Linked DNA regions of Homo sapiens: region 2 is linked to region 1. Evidence: promoter capture Hi-C in human tissues and cell types (Jung and others, 2019). All regions are on one chromosome and are shown on one strand. The core of a region is centred on a gene start or on the middle of the fragment in contact, and the rest is flanking DNA. Distances in the headings are between cores, read along the strand shown. Region 1 holds the start of PRR19 (proline rich 19). Region 2 overlaps LIPE-AS1 (LIPE antisense RNA 1).

Region 1 (5,541 bases), core at 3,042-5,541:
GGTGGGCGGATCACGAGGTCAGGAGATCAAGACCATCCTGGCTAACACGGTGAAACCCCGTCTCTACTAAAAATACAAAAAATTAGCCGGGCGTGGTGGCGGGCGCCTGTAGTCCTAACTACTCGGGAGGCTGAGGCAGGAGAATGGCGTGAACCCGGGAGGCGGAGCTTGCAGTGAGCCGAGATGCATTTCAGCCTGGGCGACAGAGCGAGACTCCGTCTCTAAATAAATAAATAAGCTGGGCGCAGTGGCTCTTGCCTGTGGGCCCAGCTACTTGGGAGGCTGATGCAGGAGGATCACTTAAGCCTAGGAGGTGGAGGCAGCAGTGAGCCATGATCACGCCCGCCTGAGGGAGACGGCAAGACCCTGTAAAAGAACAAAAATTAGGCCACATGCATTGGCTCACGACTGTATATTCAGCGACTCAGCAGGCTGGGGCAGGAGAATTGCTTGAACCTGGGAAGTGGAGGATGCAGTGAGCCGAGATCACACCACTGCATTCCAGCCTGGGTGACAGAGAAAGACTCCATCTCAAAAAAAAGTTAGTGTAGTGTTGTGATTCATAGCTAGGCTTGGTTTAAATGCCCAAAATGGCACAACTGGGCTGTGTGACCTTGGAAATGTTTGTAACTGGTCAGACTTAGTTTTCTGACCTGTAAAATTGGGTTGGTAATAAAACTACCTTCCTCATTTGGTTGCTAGAAGGATAAACTAGACCAATATGTCTAACTTGAAATGGGCCTGGTGAATGAAGAATGCCTGGAAGCTTTGTTTCTCACTAAGCTTTGCTTCAGGAACTGCTCCAACTTATCCTCTAAGACTTTATTTTTAAAAATTTTTTTCTCGGTTGGGTATGGTGGCTCACGCCTGTAATCCCAGCACTTTGGGAGGCCAAGGCAGGTAGATCACGAGGTCAGGAGATCGAGACCATCCTGGCTAACACAGTGAAACCTCTTCTCTATTAAAAATACAAAAAATTAGCCGGGCGTGGTGGCACACGCCTGTAGTCCCAGCTACTCAGGAGGCTGAGGCAGGAGAATCGCTTGAACCTGGGAGGCAGAGGTTGCAGTGAGCCGAGATCGCGCCATTGCAGTCCAGCCTAGGCGACAGAGCGAGACTCTATCAAAAAAAAAAAAAATTCTCTCTTATATCACTGACTTGAAGGCATAATTAAGACTTTTTTCTTTTCTTTTCTTTTCTTTCCTTTTCTTTTTGAGATGGAATTTAAATCTGTCACTGAGGCTGGAGTGCAGTGGCACAGTCTGAACTCACTGCAACCTCCACCTCCCGGGTTCAAGCGATTCTCCTGCCTCAGCCTCCCAGGTAGCTGGGACTACAGGCGCAGACCACCTTGCCCAGCTAATCTTTGTATTTTTTAATAGAGATGGGGTTTTGCTATGTTGGTCAGACTGGTCTTGAACTCCTGACGCCAAGTGATCTGCCCACCTCAGCCTCCCAAAGTGCTGGGATTATAGGAGTGAGCCACCGTGCCTAGCTGATTATGACTTCTTTTTTGGAGACAGGGACTCACTCTGTCACCCAACCTGGAGTGCAGTGACACCATCATGGGCCACTGCCACCTCATCTCCCAGGCTCAAGCTATCCTCCTGCCTCAGCCTCCCAACTAACTGGGACTACAGGCACTTGCCCTTTTTTTTTTTTTTTTTTTTTTTGAGACGGCGTCTCGCTCTGTCTCCCAGGCTGAAGTGCACTGGTGCCATCTCGGCTCACTGCAAGCTCTGCCTCCCAGGTTCACGCTATTCTCCTGCCTCAGCCTCCCAAGTAGCTGGGACAACAGGCGCCTGCCACCACGCCCCGCTAATTTTTTGTATTTTTAGTAGAGACGGGGTTTCACCGTGTTAGCCAGGATGGTCTCGATCCTGACCTCGTGATCTGCCCACCTCGGCCTCCCAAAGTGCTGGGATTACAGGCGTGAGCCACCGCGCCCAGCCTTTTTTTTTTTTTTTTTTTAGACAGGGTCTCACTGTGTTACCCAGGCTGGTCTCAAACTTCTGGGTTCAAGCGATCCTCGCACCTCAGCCTCCCCAGTAGCTGGGACTACAGGCATGCATCACTGCACCTGGCTCCCTCAGACTTTATTTGTTTGTTTATTTTTGTAATTAAGACAGAGTCTCGCTGTGTCACCCAAGCTGGGCCACTGTTGCCCAGGCTGGGCTGCAGTGGCGCGATCTCAGCTCACTGCAACCTCTGCCTCCCAGACTCAAGCAATTGTCCTGCCTCAGCCTTCCCAAGTAGCTGGGACTACGGGCGTGTGCTGCCATGCCTAGCTAATTTTTTTTTTTTTTTTGTATATTTAGTAGACACGTGGTTTCGCCATGTTGGCCAGGCTGGTTGACCTCAAGTGATCCGACCATGTCAGCCTCCCAAAGTGCTGGGATTACAGGCATGAGCCTCCATGCTGGCCTCCCTCAGACTTTAAAATCAAGCTATTCCACGATATTCCCCAAACCTAATAAGAAAGTGATTACCTGTGTCTTTTCTTTCTGCTTGCCCATTCTTCATTATCTTTCAGACCCAGCTGAGATACTACTCCTAGGAAACCCATAGTCCTCAGAGTCCTTCTCCTCTTCCTCCCCAGAGGTCCCTGTCTCTCCCTCAAACACAACTTTGACACCCCTACACCTCTGTGTCTGGATCTGTCTCCCTAAACACATTGGGACAAGGTCAGGAGCTGACCCACTCATTTACTACTCATTCAGCAAGCACTTGTGGAATAACCACTGTGTGCCCGGCCCAGTTCCAGGAAAGTGGATTGAAAACATAAACACAATGAATAACACTCATCTCTGTCTCAGTATCAATCCACCTCGAAGGAATGAATACATGGGAAGGTCCCACCTGGAGTGAGGCTACAAGAACATGACCAGGACGTTTAGCAGGGAGTGAGCCCCCCACCTGGTCCCAGAGAAGAGGGAGATCTGAGAAGACACTGAGGTCTGAGATTAATTTGGGGCAGCGTTGGGGGAGAGGCGCGACCCTAGGTGGCCTTGGCTATGGATGTAGGTTTCAGAGCTCAGACATACCCAGTTGGCCTGTGGGTTTAGAGAGAGTGTAGAGGCTGCAGATCTGCAAGATGATCTGCCGGAGGGACGCCAGACTGGACCTGAGCCCTGGAGGCGTCTCTAATTTCCTTTCTCTTTCTGCACCTTCTTCTACCCTCCAAGCAGGTCCTATGGTGTCTTGAATGCAAAGATATGTAGTTTATATGTTATGCCACGCGCGCGCACACACACACGGTGTTTTGAGTAGGGGTCCTGTGATGTCTTGAATGCAAAGATATGTACTTTAGATTTCAACACACACACACACACACACACACACACACACACACACACACCCACGGTGTTTTGAGTAGGGGAAGCCCACGAGTAGATAGGCTCACTAAAGCCCTGGCGCGGCCTTAGAGTGGCTCCTTAGAAGGGAGCCTCGAATTTTCACATTTTGTCATCTTCCTTTTCTGTCCCCCACATCAGTAGAAAATAGGAGCGTCCCCCCCAGCCAGGTGCATTCGAGCCACCCCTTCAAGGGAATATAAGAATGGACTCGTCCACTCGCTCCCCTCCCCCCACCACGTGAATGGGTCACCCCCCCCCCCGCAACAGTAGGTGGTCCCTTCCGCACATTTCACTCTGTACAGCAAATGGTTTCTTCCCATTTGCTAGACAGAGGGCTAGATTTTCCCCGCCCACTCTCGACTCTTCAGGTAGTTCGCCCCTCCCCGTGACCGGTGGGTGGTTTCTCCCTCCTCCCCGCCTCGGGAGCTGGATGGTCTCGCCTCTCCCTCCCCCCACCCCGTGCCGGGTGCGCGGCCTGGGAGTCAGCGGCCCGAGCGGGAAGCGCCGGGCGAGCCCACTGTGCGGCCGTCGTGGGGGAAGCGAAGGTTCCTGATTCCACCTACCTCCTAAGTGAAGGCTTCCGTCCCTGGAGAGGAGGCGGCGCCCTGTATCGGCCTTCGTCCTCCGCGGGTGTGCTAGCGTTGGGACGGTCCTTTGTTGCCGCGAGGGGTAGGAGTGGGCGTGGCGGAGCCAGCTCCGTTCGGAACACTCCCGGGCCGACCCGACTCGCTCATCCTGCAGGAGCTGCGGCGCCAAGATGAGTGGAGAGGAGAACCCAGCCAGCAAGCCCACGCCGGTGCAGGACGTACAGGGCGACGGGCGCTGGATGTCCCTGGTGAGCGTTCCCACCTGGGATATTGAGGAGTCCGGGGGCGCGGGGGGTGGCTCAGGAGAACGGCTGGTTCGTGCCACTCTCACTACCTGATTGGGAAACTGAGGGCAGTTGAGGAGGCGCTGCCTAAGGGAGCAGGGCGGGGCGGGCCCTGGAGCGTGCATGCCATTGACTCCCTCTCGCGCGCTCCCGCAGCACCATCGGTTCGTGGCTGACAGCAAAGATAAGGAACCCGAAGTCGTCTTCATCGGGGACTCCTTGGTCCAGCTCATGCACCAGTGCGAGGTGAGGGCAGTCCCTCTCCCCCTGCCCCATCCAGCCCTGTGTCCATGCTGACACATCTGGACCAGAACCCAGGCCAGGTGAGGTATTATGAGAGTACCCAGATTGGCCTCAGGCAGCCCGAGGCTCTGAGAATCTTGGTGTAAGGTGCAACATTCTATTGAGAAAGAAATGTATGCCTTGGTTTTATCAGATTGGATTTGTGTATAATGTACTAAGACCTAAAATGAGGCTTTCCTGCCATAGGCTTGCCTAAAGTGAGGCTCTTTCTTGTTTGCTTTAAGTAGTGCGCAGCCCTGTTGGGTTTACACAAAGCTATAGTCACTTTACAGGAAGCGAAGGGCAACTCTAATGGCACTCCACAAAGAGGACTCAATCATAATAATATCTTTCCACAAAGCATGTCCAACTGTAATGGGTTTCATCAAAATAAGTTTCAACTGTAATGCCATTGATTCAATGCATGGCTCAAGCAGACTGGATTTTCATGAAGTGAGTCTTGCTTCTATGGGGCTTGGTTTGTTTTGTTGGTTGGTTGGTTGGTTGGTTGGTTTTTGAGACAGGGTCTTGCTCTGTCACCCAGGCTGGCGTGCAGTGGTATGATCTCTGTTCACTGCAACCTCTGCCTCCTGGGCTCAAGTGATCCTCCCACCTTAGTCTCCGAGTAGCTGGGACTACAGGTGCACATCACCATGCACCTGGCTAATTTTTGTAATTTTTGTAGAGATGGGGTTTTGCCCTGTTGCGCAGGTTGGTCTTGAACTCCTGGGCTCAAGCAGTCCGCCCACCTCAGCATGAGCAACAGAGCCTGGGGCTTGGTTTAAAGTGAGAGACTCTAGGCAGGGTGTGGTGGCTTACGCCTGTAATCCCAGCACTTTGGGAGGCCAAGGCAGGCGGATGACCTGAGGCCAGGAGTTCGAGACCACCCTGGCCAACATGGCGAAATCCTGTCTCTACTAAAAATACAAAAATTAGCTGGGCATGGTGGCACATGCCTATAGTCCCAGCTACTTGGCAGGCTGAGGCAGGAGAATCGCCAGAACCTGGGAAGCAGAGATTGCAATGAGCCGA
Region 2 (5,541 bases), core at 1,703-4,202, 150 kb before region 1:
GGAAACCTAGTTTCAAGCCAAGCTCTGCCCTTGTAACCTTAGAAATCACTCTAACAGGTATTTTCAGACACCCAGCTCAGGCCTGAACTCCACCAGTAAACTTGTAATTTCCCAAGGAAACTTACTTTACTGTGACAGTTCTTTTCCATCCTGAGCCAAAATGTGTCTGATACACACTCACCAATTCTCATCCTACTCTCTGTAGGCTGAAATAAGTCAAACTTCATACCCCTTACCGCCCTCAATCTTCAGGAAAGGTAGAACGGACTAATGGTCTTTTAAAGACATACCTCACCAAGCTCAGTCTCCAACTTAAAAAGGACTGGACAGTACTTTTACCTCTTGCCCTTCTCAGAATTAGAGCCTGTCCTCGAGATGCTACAGGGTACAGTCCATTTGAACTTTTACATGGACACACTTTCTTGCTCGGCCCCAACCTTGTCCCAGACACCGGCCCTCTAGGCAACTATCTTCCAGGCCTCCAGCAGGCTAGACAGGAAATTCCCCAGGCTGCTAATCTTCTCTTGCCTACTCCAGATTCCCAGCCATATGAAGACACCCTAGCTGGACAACCCGTTCTTGTTAAGAATCTGACCCCTCAAACTCTACAACCTCAATGGACTGGACCCTACTTAGTCATCTCTAGCACCCCAACTGCTGTCCGCCTGCAGGATCCTCCCCATTGGGTTCACCATTCCAGAATAAAGCTGTGTCCATCAAACAGCCAGCCTAATCTCTCCTCTTCCTCCTGGAAGTCGCAAGTACTCTCCCCTACTTCCCTTAAACTCACTTGTATTTCTGAAGAACAGTAATAACCCTCATGAGCCTAATACGTCCCTTCATTCTACTAGGTCTGTTCATCCTTACCCTACTTTTTGCAACAGGGCTTTATGCAGTCACCCCCACTACTTGGACTGCACCCCAAAAAACTTGTCATCCCTACTATCTTCTGTCTAGTCATACTCTTATTCACCGTTCTCAACTACTCATAAATGCCCTGCTCTTGTTTACACTGCCAGTTTACACTGTTCCTCCAAACCATCACAGTGGATATCTCCTGGTGCTATCCCCAAACTGCCACTCTTAACTCCCTCTTAGAGTGGATAGATGATCTTTGCTGGCAGGGCACCCTCCAATACTTCCACCCTGATGAAGTTCTATTCTTTACTTTTATACTCACTCTTATTCTCATTCCCATTCTTATGCCACCCTCTACCTCTCCCCAGCTATCTCCACCACACTATCAGTCTCATTCACTCTCTCCTAGCCGTCTCTGATCCCTCCTTAGAGAACAATTGCTGGCTTTGCATTTCCCTTTCTTCCTGTGCCTACACAGCTGTCCCCGCCTTACATACAGACTAAGCAACATCTCCTGTCTCCCTACACCTCCGAACTTCCTTTAACAGCCCTCACCTTAACCCTCCTAAAGAAATTCTTTACTTTCTAGACAGGTCCAGCAAGACCTCCCCAGACATTTCACATCAGCAAGCTGCCGCCCTTCTCCGCACTTACTTAAAAAATCTTTCTCCTTATATTAATTCTACTCCCCCCATATTTGGACCCCTCACAACACAAACTACTATTCCTGTGGCCACTCCTTTATGTATCTCTTGGCAAAGACCCACTGGAATTCCCCTAGGTAACCTTTCACCTTCTCCGTGTTCCTTCACTCTTCATCTCCAAAGCCCAACTACACATATCACTGAAACAATTGGGGCCTCCCAGCTCCATATTACAGAAAAGCCCTCTATCAATACTGGCAAACTTAAAAACATTAGCAGTTATTATTTCCTAGGAAGACACTTACCCTGTATTTCACTCCATCCTTGACTACCTTCCCCTTGCTCGTCAGACTCTCCTCCCAGGCCCTCTTTTTGTTTGCTTATACCCAGCCCTGTAAATAACAGTGAAAGGTTGCTCGTAGACACTCAACGTTTTCTCATACACCATGAAAATCGAACCTCCCCCTCTATGCAGTTACCCCATCAGTCCCCATTACAACCTCTGATGGCTGCCGCCCTAGCTGGATCCCTAGGAGTCTGAGTGCAAGACACCTCTTTTAGTATTCCTTCTCATCTTTTTACTTTGCATTTCCAGTTTTGCCTTGCACAAGGTCTCTTCTTCCTCTGTGGATCCTCTGCCTACATGTGTCTACCTGCTAATTGGACAGGCACATGCACACTAGTTTACCTTACTCCCAAAATTCAATTTGCGAATGGGACTGAAAAGCTTCCTGTTCCTCTCATGACACCGACATGACAAAAAAAAAGGTTATTCCACTAATTCCCTTACTTGTCGGTTTAGGACTTTCTGCCTCCGCTATTGCGCTCAGAACTGGAATAGCAGGCATTTCAGCCTCTGTCACGACCTTCCAGAGCCTCTCTAATGACTTCTCTGCTAGCATCACAGACATATCACAAACTCTATGAGTCCTTCAGGCCAAGGTTGACTCTTTAGCTGCAGTTGTCCTCTAAAACCGCCGAGGCCTTGACTTACTCACTGCTGAAAAAGGAGGACTCTCTATATTTTTAAATGAAGAGTGTTGCTTTTACCTAAATCAATCTGGCCTAGTATATGACAATATAAAAAAAAACTCAAGGATATAGCCCAAAAACTCGCCAACAAGCAAGTAATTATGCTGAACCCCCTTGGGCACTCTCTAATTGGACATCCTGGGTCCTCCCAATTCTTAGTCCTCTGGTACCTCTTTTTCTCCTCTTATTCGGGCCTTGTGTCTTCCGTTTGGTTTCTCAATTCACACAAAACCACATTCAGACCATCACTAATCATTCTATATGACAAATGCTACTTTTAACAACCCCATAGTACCATCCTCTGCCCCAAGATCTCCCCACAGCCTAAACTCCTATTCCATGTAACCTATTATAAAATTTTCTTTAAGGTCCACACAGCCCTTAATCCTGCTCGAAGCAGCCCTGAGAAACATGGCCCATTATCTCTCCATACCACCCCAAAAACAATTTTTTCGCCACCCCAACACTTCAACACTATTTTGTTTTATTTTTCTTATTAATATAAGAAGACAGGAATGTCAGGCCTCTGAACCCAAGCCTGCATGTATACATCCAGATGGCCTGAGGCAACCGACAAGTACAAAAGAAGGGAAACAGCCAACTCCTATCTTAACCGATTGACCAACCTTATGACATTCTGTCATGACTTGATCCTGCCCTGTCCCAATTGATCTACTGATCAACCTCGTGACATTCTTCTTCTGGACAATGAGTCTTATGATCTCCCCACCATGCCCGCAAGAGAAAAACCCCCTTTAACTGTAACTTTCCACTGCTTACCCTAGTCCTATAAAACTGCCCCATCCCTAACTCCCTTCACTGACTCTCTTTTTGGACTCAGCCTGCCTGCACCAGGTGATTAAAAGCTTTATTGCTCACACAAAGCCTGTTTGGTGGTCTCTTCACATGGATGCATGTGACACTAACATTTTTTCTTTTCCTTTTTTTTTTTTTTTTTTTTGAGATGGAGTCTGGCTCTGTCACCCAGGATGGAGTGCAGTGGCACAATCTTGGCTCACTGCAACCTCCCCCTCCTGGGTTCAAGCAATTTTCCTGCCTCAGCCTCCTGAATAGCTGCGATTACAGGTGCCCGCCACTGCGCCCGGCTAATTTTTGTATTTTTAGTAGAGACAGGGTTTTGCCATGTTGGCCAGGTTGGTCTCAAACTCCCGACCTCAGGTGATCTGCCTGCCTCAGCCTCCCAAAGTGTTGAGATTACAGGCATGAGCCAATGCACCCAGCCAAGTCTAACACTTTTTTATACAACCGACCTTCAAATATTGGTAAACATCCTTGGCCGGGCACAGTGGCTCATGCCTGTAATCCCAGCACTTTGGGAGGCCAAGGTGGGTGGATCACCTGAGGTCAGGAGATCGAGATCAGCCTGACCAACATGGAGAAATCCTGTCTCTACTAAAAATACAAAAAAAAATAGCCAGGCATGGTGGCGCATGCCTGTAATCATAGCTACTTGGGAGGCTGAGGCAAGGAGAATTGCTTGAACCTGGGAAGCAGAGGTTGCGGTGAGCCAAGATTGTACCATTGCACTCCAGCCTGGGCAATAAGAACAAAACTTCGTCTCAAAAATAAAAATAAAAAAATAAAAAAACAACCTCTATGTGCCACCTACCCCATCTTCCCTCGGCCGTTTCCCACGTAGGGTCACCTGAAGCCCCACACCCACTGCTCACTTTCCCACGGGCAAGTGAAGTGCAGCAACCACAGCCTACACTCTGAATCCTAGGGGTGTTCCCCAGAGCAGCAGAGCCACAGGAACCCCATCCCCGTCCTGGCACCTCACCCCTATCTAGAAGCTGAACGCTGTATCAGCTGATCTGGGGGGACTGATTTTTCCTGCTCCTGCTGCTGCTTAGTCATCCCACACCTGTGCAGATGTCTACTTTTTATTCAGTTTTATTTTGTAAGAAATATTTATCGGATCCTGCTGTGTACTGTCACTGGAGAGACAAAGGTGAATCACACCTGGTCCCTGCCTCACAGAGCTCCAGGCTATGGATGAAACCCACTCAAAGTCAGACCATTACCATTCAGTGAGAAACACCGTGACAGACATCAGAAAAGGGTTTTCTTTTTAAAACAAGAAACAAAAAAGCTTTTTATAGAGACAGGGTCTCACCATGTTGCCCACACTGGTCTCAAACTCCTGGACCCAAGCCATCCTCCCACCTCAGCTTCCCAAAGTGCTGGGATTACAGGCACCCATCCAACACAGGCTTTTTGACGCATCTCACTAATCCCCTGTGAAAAATCTTCCACTCTTGGTTTCCTGGGGTCAGTTTTCTTCATTTCAAGCTCAAAGTGAAAAAGAGAATACAAATATCCCTGATGGTCCTTTGTGCGGTCACAGCTGGACCCGGTATGTCCTCCCGGTTAATCCAGGGTGCTCAGGGCTCCCATTTCACTCTGAACGTCCTCTCTCCTATCGGAGCTCACCACGTCTACACCTGCAGCAGCCAGGTAGCTGCACACTAATAGAAAATCCAGCAAGTCAGAAAACTTGATTTACTCCTGTAACTTTGAGGCTACTGACTGTGTTGTTGAACTAATCCTATAACTTCCCTGCACTTTAATTTCCATGTCTGTAAAGTGGGGCAGGTGGATTCGGTCACCCTAGGTGCCACTGTATAGTGAGAGCTCCTCAGAGACAGCAGCACACCTGATCTCAGCATCCACCATCTAGTAAATACCAGGCACACACTAGGCGCTCAAAGTCTCACTGAATGTATGTGTGAATAAATGACTATATGAGAGCCATGTGGATCATGGACAAAGTCAACAAATATTTTTGAATGTCTACCAAGTACACTGTAGAATAGGGAAATAAGTAACCCAGGCAGGGCGGTGTTTTCTCCCAAATTCCCCTTACCTCCTCCTGAGGAATGGAGGGCCTCTGTACATCAGAGAGACTCTTGACACAAATAATGTTCTTGAGATGCATCATAAGAAGTTGTGATGTTAACAAGAAAAAAGTCCATTTGTCTTGGGG

The links. The method cuts DNA at HindIII sites, captures the fragments that hold promoters and counts their contacts. A contact is called where the count stands out against the background at its distance.
Region 2: a contact is called between a fragment that was not itself captured here and the fragment with the promoter of PRR19 in region 1, in 1 of the 25 tissues and cell types used here (pancreas).

Annotation. Positions count from the first base shown.
Region 1 is chr19:42,300,882-42,306,422 of GRCh38, reverse strand. PRR19 (proline rich 19) reads right to left here and starts at 4,291. Exons shown (of 3, transcript NM_199285.3): 1 at 3,920-4,291. PAFAH1B3 (platelet activating factor acetylhydrolase 1b catalytic subunit 3) reads left to right here and starts at 3,799. Exons shown (of 5, transcript NM_002573.4): 1 at 3,799-4,191; 2 at 4,384-4,473. The coding sequence starts at 4,114. RefSeq lists a silencer at 3,685-3,904 and enhancers at 3,458-4,112, 4,065-4,194, 4,275-4,324. The HindIII fragment of the contact is 37,239 bases long and covers 1-5,541 here.
Region 2 is chr19:42,444,871-42,450,411 of GRCh38, reverse strand. The region is part of intron 1 of LIPE-AS1 (LIPE antisense RNA 1); the gene reads right to left. Among named protein-coding and RNA genes, the nearest start is that of CXCL17, 4.7 kb to the right of the region's middle. The HindIII fragment of the contact is 4,999 bases long and covers 453-5,451 here.